Regions from separate parts of the Homo sapiens genome. Here region 2 is linked to region 1. Evidence: promoter capture Hi-C in human tissues and cell types (Jung and others, 2019). All regions are on one chromosome and are shown on one strand. The core of a region is centred on a gene start or on the middle of the fragment in contact, and the rest is flanking DNA. Distances in the headings are between cores, read along the strand shown. Region 1 holds the start of ANXA3 (annexin A3). Region 2 overlaps FRAS1 (Fraser extracellular matrix complex subunit 1).

Region 1 (6,955 bases), core at 4,456-6,955:
CTGCCCTGTGCTCTGGGAAACCGACTTTTCATCAACTGCTTCTTCAAGGCTCCCTTGCCTCTTGCTTCTGGTTGAGGTTGGCCAAGTGGAACCACTGATGAGAGAGAAGATGATGTGTGTTTAGCCTCCTCCCTGCTTCCTTCTGCCTTGTGATTCTGGGGTGGCTGCATCCCTCCCTGGCCACAGGTGTCACGGGTTCTGATGAAACCCCTTCCCTCCCTTGCCCACGCAAGGCTAGTCATGATTTCATCCTGTCCCTAGTCCTTGGAGACTATATCATCCCTGTGGATACCTAACCGAACTCTGCCCATGCGTTTGTAAATAGCTCCTTTATTTGACTCTTTATTCAGACCCTTTAAGTACTCTGTCTTTCTGTCCAAACTCTTACACAGTCCTTAAATTCAGTGCCATTTGGTTCCACTTCTCTAATGTAAATCAAAATTAAATACTTGAACTCAAATCTTGTCTCAATTTTAAATTTGCTTGTTATTATAAAGAGTGATGTGCTGATAAATGCTTCACAACTGACCTTTCGGGTAAAGGGAAGCTCCATTTACAGTATTTCCTAGTTTTTGTGTTGTATATACTCCCATTATGGCTGAATACAACCCATTAGCATAATTTCACTGAATGTGGAGTTGGGAAGAGATGCACAGTAGTACCACTTTATGCACTATTTTTCTTTTCTTTTTTTTGAGTCGGAGTTTCGCTCTTGTTGCCCGGGCTGGAGTACAATGGCACCATCTGGGCACACTGCAACCTCCGCCTCCCAGGTTCAGGCGATTCTCCTGCCTCAGCCTTCCCGAGTAGCTGGGATTACAGACATGTGCCACCATGCCCGGCTAAATTATTATTATTATTTTTTCTTTCTGTTTTTCTTGGTTTTTTTTTTTTTTTTAAGATGGAGTCTCGCTCTGTCGCCCAGGCTGGAGTGCAGTGGCGCAATTTCGGCTCACTGCAAGCTCCGCCTCCCGGGTTCATGCCATTCTCCTGCCTCAGCCTCCTGAGTAGCTGGGACTACAGGCGCCCGCCACCACATCCAGCTAATTTTTCGTATTTTTAGTGGAAACAGGGTTTCACCGTATTAGCCAGGATGTCTTGATCTCCTGACCTCGTGATCTGCCCACCTCGGCCTCCCAAAGTGCTGGGATTACAGGCGTGAGCCACTGCGCCCGGCTTATGCCCTATTTTCACCACATGGATGCAATAAACACAACCTGGAAAGCATCACTAATAATAAAATGTCCTCTCCCCCTCCCCCTCCCCCTCCCTCTCCCCACGGTCTCCCTCTCCCTCTCTTTCCACGGTCTCCCTCTGATGCCGAGCCGAAGCTGGACTGTACTGCTACCATCTCGGCTCACTGCAACCTCCCTGCCTGATTCTCCTGCCTCAGCCTGCCGAGTGCCTGCGATTGCAGGCGCGCGCCACCACGCCTGACTAGTTTTCGTATTTTTTTGGTGGAGACGGGGTTTCGCTGTGTTGGCCGGGCTAGTCTCCAGCTCCTAACCGCAAGTGATCCGCCAGCCTCGGCCTCCCGAGGTGCGGGGATTGCAGACGGTGTCTGGTTCACTCAGTGCTCAATGGTGCCCAGGCTGGAGTGCAGTGGCGTGATCTCGGCTCGCTACAACCTCCACCTCCCAGCCGCCTGCCTTGGCCTCCCAAAGTGCCGAGATTACAGCCTCTGCCCGGCCGCCACCCCGTCTGGGAAGTGAGGAGCGTCTCTGCCTGGCCGCCCATCGTCTGGGATGTGAGGAGCCCCTCTGCCTGGCTGCCCAGTCTGGAAAGTGAGGAGCGTCTCTGCCCGGCCGCCATCCCATCTAGGAAGTGAGGAGCGCCTCTTCCGGGCCGCCATCCCGTCTAGGAAGTGAGGAGCGTCTCTGCCCGGCAGCCCATGGTCTGAGATGTGGGGAGCGCCTCTGCCCTGCCGCCCCGTTTGGGATGTGAGGAGCGTCTTTGCCCGGCCGCCCCGTCTGAGAAGTGAGGAGACCCTCTGCCTGGCAACCGCCCCGTCTGAGCAGTGAGGAGCCCCTCCGCCCGGCAGCCGCCCTGTCTGAGAAGTGAGGACCCCCTCTGCCCGGCAGCCACCCCGTCTGGGAAGTGAGGAGCGTCTCCGCCCGGCAGCCACCCCGTCCGGGAGGGAGGTGGGGGGTCAGCCCCCACCAGGCCAGCCACCCCGTCCCGGAGGGAGGTGGGGGTTAGCCCCCCACCCGGCCAGCCGCCTTGTCTGGGAGGGAGGTGGGGGGTCAGCCCCCCGCCCGGCCAGCCGCCCCGTCCGGGAGGTGAGGGGTGCCTCTGCCCGGCCGCCCCTACTGGGAAGTGAGGAGCCCCTCTGCCCGGCCAGCCGCCCCATCTGGGAGGGAGGTGGGGGGGTCAGCCCCCTGCCCGGCCAGCCGCCCCGTCAGGGAGGTGAGGGGCGCCTCTGCCCGGCTGCCCTTACTGGGAAGTGAGGAGCCCCTCTGCCCAGCCACCACCCTGTCTGGGAGGTGTACCCAACAGCTCATTGAGAACGGGCCATGATGACAATGGCGGTTTTGTGGAATAGAAAGGGGGGAAAGGTGGGGAAAGGATTGAGAAATCGGATGGTTGCCGTGTCTGTGTGGAAAGAAGTAGACATGGGAGACTTTTCATTTTGTTCTGTACTAAGAAAAATTCTTCTGTCTTGGGATCCTGTTGATCTGTGACCTTACCCCCAACCCTGTGCTCTCTGAAACATGTGCTGTGTCCACTCAGGTTTGAATGGATTAAGGGCGGTGCAAGATGTGCTTTGTTAAACAGAGGCTTGAAGGCAGCATGCTCCTTAAGAGTCATCACCACTCCCTAATCTCAAGTACCCAGGGACACAAACACTGCGGAAGGCCGCAGGGTCCTCTGCCTAGGAAAACCAGAGACCTTTGTTCACTTGTTTATCTGCTGACCTTCCCTCCACTATTGTCCTGTGACCCTGCCAAATCCCCCTCTGCGAGAAACACCCAAGAATGATCAATTAAAAAATAAATAAATAAATAAATAAATAAATAAATAAATAATAAAAAAAATAATAATAAAATGTGAAATAATTAGGAAGTGGTTAATTTTGAGTACCTATTACCTTTGCTTTTAACGTAATTTATTCAATTGTATTTATTTAACTTGTAATAATGTCTACATTAATACTGGCTGTGAAATAACTGAAAATTCAGGAACTGGCTTTCACATGCTGGTATAACCCAGCTCCAACACATCACTGTAACAGCAGCTATGTATTCAACAGCCACAATCACGTAGTCGGTCTTTCCTTCACATTTTACCATATGTTCTAAATATATCTCAATAACTTTGCTTTAAAAATTTGTATTTGGCTGTTAAATTGTTCTTTTGATCAGGATGCTATAGGAAAATTCCCTTTTTACTAACCTGTAAAGTTCTGTGTATTCAGAATAATGAAACTTTTATTAAATAACCTTTTCTGAATTCTTTTTCTGGATAACCATAAACCTGGATTCTAACAGCATCCTCTAATATTTCCTTCCAAGAAAACTCATCCTTTGGGGAAAAAATAGTTTTATAATATGCCATAGCATGTTTCTAATATAAATGGTGGTAATTGGGCTGTTGATACAACTAGAAAAACTCAAAAAATGATAAAAGTGCATTTGTTAAAGTTACCATCAGGAAATCAAAGAAGTTAAATCCTGAATGGTTTAAACAATTAAAATAAAGCCTACATGTAAAACATCACCTGTTACTCATTTTCTTCTGGCTATAAATCTAGCCCTATGACTTCCTAGTTGCCTGGAATACAACTCGTAGAACTTACTGAGTCCCTCTGAGCCTGTGTCTGTATCTGCAAAATAGAGGCAATCATACCTAATTTACAGCTAGTTGGTAAGCATGACATAGATCACGTACGTCAAGTGCATTACCCAGTGTCTGGCACAAATAATAATAAATATTTTCCCCCATTTCATGCTAATCTCAGAATTTTTTGAGGTAACATGGGATTTAACAGTTTATTGTGGTGAAGTCTGAATGGGAGTCAGGAATTACTATGCAGAACAGAATGCAGAACACCATCCTATCTTCTCTCTTGCAGAAAGCCCATCACTTCGGATTTGTAGATCTGAGAGGGCTCCCAGGGCACTGGCCTTTTAAGCATGACCACTTCTGCCTTCTCCGTTGTAGCTCCTCTTAAACCAGTGGTTCTCAAACTTTAGGATGCATCAGAATCACTTGATGGCGCAGGGTTTCAGGGAATTTGCATTTCTAATGAGTTTCTAGGTCCCAGGACTCAGCCTTAAGGACCAAGACTGTAATCTCTTCAACTCACACTCAAGCAGCTCCAGCCATGCTTATCCTCTAAAAATCCTCTGTGCTCCACCTGTTCACCCTACCTCCTCTCAACTCCTAGAAACCAGTGATTTTTTTTACTGTCTCCGTAGTGTTGCCTTTTCTGGAATGTCATATAGTTGGAATCATAGTGTGTAGCATTTTCAAATGGGCTTCTTTCTCTTAATAATATGCATTTAAGTTTCTTCCATGTGTTTTTATAGCTTGATAGCTAATTTCTTTTCAGTGCTGAATAAAATTCTATTGTATAGATGTATCACAGTTTATTTATCCATTCACCTACGAATTACATCTTGGTTGCTTCCGACTTTTGATACTTAGGAGTAAAGCTACTATAAACATCCATGTGCAGGTGTTTGTGGAGGTAAGTTTTCAAATCCTTCGGGTGAATACATAAGGGGCCCAGTGATGACTGAGTGCAAGCAATACTTTTTACTTACGTGGTCTCGGATAAATCACTTCACTTTTCTAAGCCTCAGTTTTCTCTTCTGCAAATTGTGATAAAAATAGCACCTCCTAGAGTTCCCTTGAAGATAAAAGAGGTAAGGTATTCAAGCACTTCAATGCCTGATACTCAATACATGGTAACTTTTTCTACATCCTTCAGCACACAACTGCTCATAATTCCCTCATACGAGTAGGGCTTTAACCTTTTAGCCTCGATGATTTGTTTTGCTCTTCCAAATGCCTAGAATGCCCTTCCAGGTTACCGTCTCCCTGAGCCTTTGGTTGGAATCCTCATACCAGAGGGTCAACACGTTTAGTAGAGGAATTACTGAAATAGTTGGGTTCCAAACACTAGCTCTGGCATTTACCTTCTGTGTAAATTGGCTGAAGTTACCCAACGTCTCTGTATCTCAATTTCCTCATCTATAAAATGGGGATAATAGTATCTACCTCATAGAGTTGTTGTCGGAGCCATTTTAATGGCAAAAACCGCAATTACTTTTGCACCAACCTAATAAATCCGCGCATATTCTTAAAGAAGTTAGAACAGTGCCTGGTACAAAGTAAATGCCAGATCAATGTTATTAATGTTAGGTGTCCGCCACCTATGCCACGCAGTGAGTTCCTTAGGTATAGGGACAGTCTAATCTCCGAATCCACACTGCCTAGAACAAAATAAGCATTGCAGTACATTTGAGAAAGTAAAGGTGTAGTGGAAACCGAGAGCGAAATGAGGGCGTAGGGAGAAAAGGGTGGGGAAGCTTAGAGACCGGTGAGGGAGCAGAGCTGGGGCGCCTGTGTACAGGGATAGAGCCCGGCGGCAGCAGGGCGCGGCTTCCCTTTCCCGGGGCCTGGGGCCGCAATCAGGTGGAGTCGAGAGGCCGGAGGAGGGGCAGGAGGAAGGGGTGCGGTCGCGATCCGGACCCGGAGCCAGCGCGGAGCACCTGCGCCCGCGGCTGACACCTTCGCTCGCAGTTTGTTCGCAGTTTACTCGCACACCAGTTTCCCCCACCGCGCTTTGGGTAAGTTCAGCCTCCCGGCGCGTCCCCGCGAGCCTCGCCCACAGCCGCCTGCTGACGGGTGGCTTGGGGAGGTCGCGGCGCCTCGCCCAGTTCCCCCGCGAGTGCAGCTCGACCCTGGGCAGGGCTGGCGGCTGGCGCCCGCGCCCGGCCCCAACCCAGCTGCGTGGGTGGGGAGCTGGAGGGACCTCAGTCCTGCATTTCAGAGTCGAGGAGACTGGGCCCACGGGGGGGAAAGTGCCGTGCCATGGGTGGGTCACCCAGGTCTTGGTGGGGCCCAAGCTGATACTCAGCTGTCCTCGCTCCCTGAAAGCTTCGCTTATTACAGCTAGCAGCGTAAGGGATCCACTTAGCCATCTCGGCCTCCCCAGTCCTAAAGGTCTAGGGGACAGAAAAAAGCTGGGAGTCGGAAGGTTCCTCGGGTCCCCGGCATGGCAGACGGGGCTGGCTCAGAGGTCTGCTCTGTGGACTTGGAATCGCACCCATCCTGTGAGCATCTTCTCCCCCTCACATAGGCAATTTATTTTATTTTACTTATTTTTTTTAGAAGGTAGAAAACAGTGGATTTGCATATTGAGGGTTGGAAGTTCAAGAAGTTTGCTTTTTCCTGAAAAGACTAACCGTTTTCTTTGCAACAGAATCCTATTGACTAGATATGAATCATTCCCTTGGTATTTGAGTCACCAGGTGGAAGATTTGGATACTTGATTGCAGATGACCATATATAGGAAAGTATGCAGGTGCTGGGAGGTTCTGGGTCGCTGGAGGCCCCTCTGGCTACTGATACGAAATTGCATAGCCCAGGCCGAATTCTTTCCAAGGATTTGTGTTCAGCACTGACAGCAAGACCCTGCCCTCCGGGAAAGATACATTTACTATGTTCACCAACATCATTTTTTAAAATGTAACTAATTAAAACGTTACTCCATGAAGATACCACCTTTGGTTTTCACGAAGACGGAAAACTTCAGACTGACCAGAAAGGGAATTTTTAAATGTAAAGAAAACCAGAATCTTGTTCCCAGAACTCTGTGGTTGTGTAGAGAAACCTGTTTAGAAATAACCGTAGAGGAGGAAGTAAAAGGAAATGATGTAATCCCTTTCAGGAAAGGATATATTGAAATTCTGTTTAAGTCATTTGGCCTTCGCTGTGGAGTAATTCT
Region 2 (6,955 bases), core at 4,230-6,729, 46 kb before region 1:
ATCACTTGTTAAAAAAAAATACACACGTAACTGGCACCATTCAACAAATATTGCTGAAAAGTGCTGTGCTGGGTCAGTCAAGGATTACTACATCTGAAAGGCACAATCCCTGTGTTCAAGTGGTTTAATATCTGCTAGGAAACAGGATACCCAGTTTTGGACTTTCCAAAACACAATTTATATGGAGATGAGTTTGGGAAAAGAGAGAGATGGCGTTCAGGTCATAGATCACAGCTTAAAGGTCTGTGATCTTCCACTATCCCCCTTTCGGAGGACATTTAAGTATTAATCTGATGGGGAGAATGAAACAGGAAAAGGGTTGAACTGTATGCTAGGTTTCTTCACAGAACTTTCTGAAATCTAACTGGTATAGATCCTGACACCATTTGCGACGTAGCCAGAGGAGGGCAACAGTGCTAGGAGAACTTTTTAGAGCTGTCTTGGCAAGTGGAGGGAGAAAATGATGCCCTCAGAAATCATGGGGGTTGAAGGGGGAGGGTCTTTATTTTCTCTCCCCTCACCAGAGCTTTAAAGGGCTTCTGGCTCCATCCCATCTGTGTCTGACTGATGTTTGCTGGAAAGCTAGATGCCCTCCTTCCATATCTCAAGATGGAACTGTCTTTCACTTTTTACTTTTCCGCATAAAGATCTGGGGAAAGGATAGGTCTAGAAGGAACTTAACCCGGATGTCTGTAGACTAAGAAAGGGGCTTTAACTTCAATGAGGTATTTGCACCTTCAGAAACTCACCTTACAAAAAAAGAAGTGGGTCTTTTTTTATATATATACTTTAAGTTCTAGGGTACATGTGCGCAACATGCAGGTTTGTTACATAGGTATGCATGTGCCATGTTGGTTTGCTGCACCCATTAACTCGTCATTTACATTAGGTATTCCTCCCAGTGCTATCCCTCCCCCAGCCCTTCATCCTCCAACAGGCCCCATTGTGTGATGTTCCCTGCCCTGTGTCCAAGTGTTCTCATTGTTCAGTTCCCACCTATGAGTGAGGACGTGCAATGTTTGGTTTTCTGTCCTTGTGATAGTTTGCTGAGAATGATGGTTTCCAGCTTCATCCATGTCCCTGCAAATGACAAGAACTCATCCTTTTTTATGGCTACATAGCATTCCATGGTATATATGTGCCACATTTTCTTAATCCAGTCTATTATTGACGGCCATTTGGGTTGGTTCCAAGTCTTTGCTATTGTTAATAGTGCCGCAGTAAACATATGTGTGCATGTGTCTTTATAGTAGCATGATTTATAATTTTTTGGGCATCTACCCAGTAATGAGATTGCTGGGTCAAATGGTATTTCTGGTTCTAGATCCTTGAGGAATTGCCACACTGTCTTTCACAATGGTTGAACTTTTTACACTCCCACCAACAGCATAAAAGCGGTCCTATTTCTCCACATCCTCTCCAGAATCTGTTGTGTCCTGACTTTTTAATGATCGCCAGTCTAACTGGCATGAGACGGTATCTCATTGTGGTTTCAATTTGCATTTCTCTGATGACCGATGGAATTAATTAGATCCCATTTGTCTATTTTGGCTTTTGTTGCCATTGCTTTTAGTGTTTTAGTCATGAAGTCGTTACCCATGCCTATGTCCTGAATGGTATTGCCTAGGTCTTCTTCTAGGGTTTCTATAGTTTTAGGTCTAACATTTAAGTCTTTAATCCACCTTGAATTAATTTTTGTAAAAAGTGTAAGGAAGGGATCCAGTTTCAGCTTTGTATATATGGCTAGCCAGTTTTCTCAGCACCATTTATTAAGTAGGGAATTATTTCCCCATTGCTTTTGTCAGGTTTGTCAAAGATCAGATGGTTGTAAATGTGTGGTGTTATTTCTGAGGCCTCTGTTCCGTTCCATGGGTCTACATATCTCTTTTGGTACCAGTACCATGCTGTTTTGGTTACTGTAGCCATGTAGTATAGTTTGAAGTCAGGTATTGTGATGCCTCCAGCTTTGTTCTTTTTGCTTAGGACTGTCTTGGCAATGAGGGCTCTTTTTTGGCTCCATATGAAATTTAAAGTAGTTTTTTTCCAATTCTGTGAAGAAAGTCATTGGTAGCTTGATCGGGATGGCATTGTATCTATAAATTACCTTGGGCAGTATGGCCATTTTCACGATATTGATTCTTCCTCTCCGTAAGCGTGGAATGTTCTTCCATTTGTTTGTGTCCTCCTTTATTTCATTAAACAGGGGTTTGTAGTTCTCCTTGAAGAGGTCCTTCATGTCCCTTGTAAGTTGGATTCCTAGGTATTTTATTCTCTTTGTAGCAATTGTGAATGGGAGTTCACTCATGATTTGGTTCTCTGTTTATTATAGTTGTATAGGAATGCTTGTGATTTTTGCACATTGATTTTGTGTCCTGAAACTTTCTGAAGTTGCTTATCAGCTTAGGGAGATTTTGGGCTGAGATGATGGGGTTTTCTAAATATACAATCATGTCATCTGCAAACAGGGGCAATTTGACTTCCTCTTTTCCTAATTGAATACCCTTTATTTCTTTCTCTTGCCTGATTGCCCTGGCCAGAACTTCCAATACTGTGTTGAATAGGAGTGGTGAGAGAGGGCATCCTTGTCCTGTGCCAGTTTTCAAAGGGAATGCTTCCAGCTTTTGCCCATTCAATATGATATTTGCTATGGGTTTGTCATAAATAGCTCTTATTATTTTGAGATACATTCCATCAATACCTAGTTTATTGAGAGTTTTTAGCATGAAGAGCTGTTGAATTTTGTCAAAGGCCTTTTCTGCATCTATTGAGATAATCATGTGGTTTTTGTCACTGGTTCTGTTTATGTGATGGATTACCTTTATTGATTTGCATATGTTGAACCAACCTTGCATCCCAGGGATGAAGCCAACATGATCGTGGTGGATAAGCTTTTTGATGTGCTGCTGGATTCGATTCACCAGTATTTTATTGAGGATTTTCGCATTGATGGTCATCAGGGATATTGGTCTAAAAATCTCTTTTCTTGTTGTGTCTCTGCCAGGCTTTGGCATCAGGATGATTCCGGCTTCATAAAATGAGTTAGGGAGAATTACCTCTTTTTCTATTGTTGAATATTTTCAGAAGGAATGGTACCAGCTCTTCTTTGTACCTCTGATAGAATTTGGCTGTGAATCCGTCTGGTCCTGGACTTTTTTTGGTTGTTAGGCTATTAATTATTGCCTCAATTTCAGAGCCTGTTATTGGTCTGTTCAGAGATTCAACTTCTTCCTGGTTTAGTCTTGGGAGGGTGTATGTGTCCAGGAATTTATTCATTTCTTCTAAGTTTTCTAGTTTATTTGCATAGAGGTGTTTATAGTATTCTCTGATGGTAGTTTGTATTTCTGTGGGATCGGTGGTGAGATCCCCTTTATCATTTTTTATTGCATCTATTTGATTCTCCTCTCATTTCTTCTTTATTAGTTTTGCTAGTGGTCAATCAATTTTGTTGATCTTTTCAAAAAACCAGCTTCTGGATTCCTTTATTTGTTTGAAGGGTTTTTTGTGTCTCTATCTCCTCCAGTTCTATTCTGATCTTAGTTATTTCTTGCCTTTTGATGGCTTGTGAATTTGTTTGCTCTTGCTTCTCTAATCCTTTTAACTGTGATGTTAGGGTGTCAATTTTAGATCTCTCCTGCTTTCTCTTGTGAGCATTTAATGCTATAAATTTCCCTCTACACACTGCTTTAAATGTGTCCCAGAGATTCTGGTACATTGTGTCTTTGTTCTCATTGGTTTCAAAGAACATCTTTATTTCTGCCTTAATTTCATTATGTACCCAGTAGTTATTCAGGAGCAGATTGTTCAGTTTCCATGTAGTTGTGCAGTTTTGGGTGAGTTTAGTTAATCCCGAGTGTTAATTTGATTACACTGTGGTCTGAGAGACAGTTTGTTGTGATTTCTGTTCTTTTCCATTTGCTGAGGAGTACTTTACTTCCAATTATGTGGTCAATTTTAGAATAAATGTGATGTGGTGCTGAGAAGAATGTATATTCTGTTGATTTTGGGTGGAGAGTTCTGTAGCTGTCTATTAGGTCTGCTTGCTGCAGAGCTAAGTTCAAGTCCTGGATATCGTTATCAACCTTCTGTCTCATTGATTTGTCTAATATTGACTGACAGTGGAGTGTTAAAGTCTCCCATTATTATTGTGTGGGAATCTAAATCTCTTTGTAGTCTCTAAGGACTTGCTTTATGAATCTGGATGCTCCTGTATTGGGTGTATATACATTTAGGATAATTAACTCTTCTTGTTGAATTGATCCCTTTACCATTATGTAATGGCCTTCTTTGTCTCGTTTGATCTTTGTTGGTTTAAAATCTGTTTTATCAGAGACTAGGATTGCAACCCCTGCTTTTTTTCTTTTGCTTTCCATTTGCTTGGTGGATCTTCCTCCATCCCTTTATTTTGAGCATACGTGTGTCTCTGCATGTGAGATGGATCTCCTGAATACAGCACAATGATGGGTCTTGACTCTTTATCCAATTTGCCAGTCTATGTCTTTTAATTGGGGTCATTTAGCCCATTTACATTTAAGGTTAATATTGTTATGTGTGAATTTGATCCTGTCATTATGATATTAGCTGGTTATTTTGCCCATTAATTGATGCAGTTTCTTCATAGCATCAATGGTCTTTACAATTTGGCATGTTTTTGCAGTGGATGGTACTGGTTGTTCCTTTCCATATTTAGTGCTTCCTTCAGGAGCTCTTGTAAGGCAGGCCTGGTGGTGACAAAATCTCTCAGCATTTGCTTGTCTCTAAAGGATTTTATTTCTCCTTCACTTATGAAGCTTAGTTTGGCTGGATATGAAATTCTGGTTTGAAAAATTCTTTTCTTTAAGAATGTTGAATATTGTCCCCCACTCTCTTCTGGCTTGTAGGGTTTCTGCCAGGAGATCTGCTGTTAGTATGATGGGCTTCCCTTTGTGGGTAATCCGACCTTTCTCTCTGGCTGCCCTTAACATTTTTTCCTTCATTTCCACCTTGGTGAATCTGACAATTATGTGTTTTGGGGTTGCTCTTCTTGAGGAGTACCTTTGTGATGTTCTCTGTATTTCCTCAATTTGAATGTTGGCCTTGCTTGCCAGGTTGGGGAAGTTCTCCTGGATAATATCCTGAAGAGTGTTTTCCAACTTGGTTCCATTTTCCCCATCATTTTCAGGTACACCAATCAAATGTAGATTTTGTCTTTTCACATAGTCCTATATTTCTTGGAGGATTTATTCATTTCTTTTTATTCTTTTTTTCTCTAAACTTCTCTTCTCGCTTTATTTCATTAATTTGATCTTCAATCACTGATATCCTTTCTTCCACTTGATTGAATTGCCTATTGAAGCTTGTGCATGTATCACGAAGCTCTTGTGCCATGGTTTTCAGCTCAATCAGGTCATTTAAAGTCTTCTCGACACTGTTTATTCTAGTTAGCCATTCGTCTACCCTTTTTTCAAGGTTTTTGGCTTCTTTGTGATGGGTTAGAACGTGCTCCTTTAGCTCGGAGAAGTTTGTTATTACCGACCTTCTGAAGCCTACTTCTGTCAACTCGCCAAAGTCATTCTCCATCCATCTTTGTTCCGTTGCTGGTGAGGAGCTGCGATCCTTTGGAGGAGAAGAGACACTCTGGTTTTTAGAATTTTCAGCTTTTCTGTTCTGGTTTATCCCCATCTTTGTGGTTTTATCTGCCTTTGGTCTTTGTTGTTGGTGACCTACAGATGGGGTTTTGGTGTGAATGTCCTTTTTGTTGATGTTGCTGCTATTCCTTTCTGTTTGTTAGTTTTCCTTCTAATAGTCAGATCCCTCAGCTGCAGGTCTGTTGGAGTTTGCTGGAAGTCCACTCCAGACCCTGTTTGCCTGGGTATCACCAGCAGAGGCTGTAGAACAGCAAATATTGCAGAACGGCAAATATTGCTGCCTGATCCTTCCTCTGGAAGCTTCATCCCAGAGGCATGCACCTATATGTGGTGTCCGTCAGCTGCCACTGGGAGATGTCTCCCAGTTAGGCTACACAGGGGTCAGGGACCCACTTGAGGAGGCAGTCTGTCTGTTCTCTGAGCTCAAATGCCATGCTGGGAGAACAACTGCTCTCTTCAGAGCTGTCAGACAGGGACGTTTAAGTCTGCAGAAGTTTCTGCTGGCTTTTGTTCAGCTATGCCCTGCCCACAGAGGTGGAGTCTATAGAGGCAGTAGGCCTTCCTGAGCTGTGGTGGGCTCCCCCCAGTTCGAGCTTCCCAGCCGCTTTGTTTACCTACTTAAGCCTCAGCAATTGCAGACACCCCTCCCCCAGCCAGGCTACAGCCTCGCGGGTTGATCTCAGGCTGCTGCGCTAGCAGCGAGCAAAGCTCCATGGGTATGGAACCCCCCGAGTCAGGCATGGGAGAGAATCCCCTGGTCTGCTGGTTGCTAAGACTGTGGGAAAAGTGCAGTATTTGGGCAGGCGTGTCCCATTTTTCCAGGTACAGTCTGTCACGGCTTCCCTTGGCTAGGAAAAGGAAATCCCCCGACCCCTTGCACTTCTCGGGTGAGGCGACGCCCCTCCCTGCTTCAGCTTGCCCTCCATGGGCTGCACCAATGTCCAACCAGTCCCAGTGAGATGAACCAGGTACCTCAGTTGGAAATGGAGAAATCACCTGTCTTCTGCGTCAATCATGCTGGGAGCTGCAGACCAGAGCTGTTCCTATTCGGCCATCTTGGAACGGTACCCAAAGTGGGTCTTGAAGGCTTGAACCCTCACCTGTTCCAGGTCACTCACCCTCCATGTTACCATCTTTGTGGAGGCTGGCTTGGTAGATAACCTTGAGCCACTACTTCTCAGGAGACAGCTTTGAAGGATATCTGTATGTGCAAGCCCTCACAGCCAAACAGGAGCTCATGCAAAATGTAAGGGGGAAAGAAAAATTAAGCAAAAAAACTCATAACCAGGGTGAAGTGTATTTTGGATCGTAGATTTTTATTACTGCCAGCC

Evidence for each region. Contacts are between HindIII fragments. The study calls those that stand out against the background at their distance.
Region 2: a contact is called between a fragment that was not itself captured here and the fragment with the promoter of ANXA3 in region 1, in 1 of the 25 tissues and cell types used here (aorta).

Annotation. Positions count from the first base shown.
Region 1 is chr4:78,546,065-78,553,019 of GRCh38, forward strand. It overlaps ANXA3 (annexin A3), which reads left to right and starts at 5,706. Exons shown (of 13, transcript NM_005139.3): 1 at 5,706-5,795. RefSeq lists enhancers at 6,071-6,822, 6,126-6,955. The HindIII fragment of the contact is 13,286 bases long and covers 1-5,819 here.
Region 2 is chr4:78,500,199-78,507,153 of GRCh38, forward strand. All of the region lies in intron 61 of FRAS1 (Fraser extracellular matrix complex subunit 1), which reads left to right. Among named protein-coding and RNA genes, the nearest start is that of ANXA3, 48 kb to the right of the region's middle. RefSeq lists a silencer at 6,137-6,431. The HindIII fragment of the contact is 3,284 bases long and covers 3,838-6,955 here.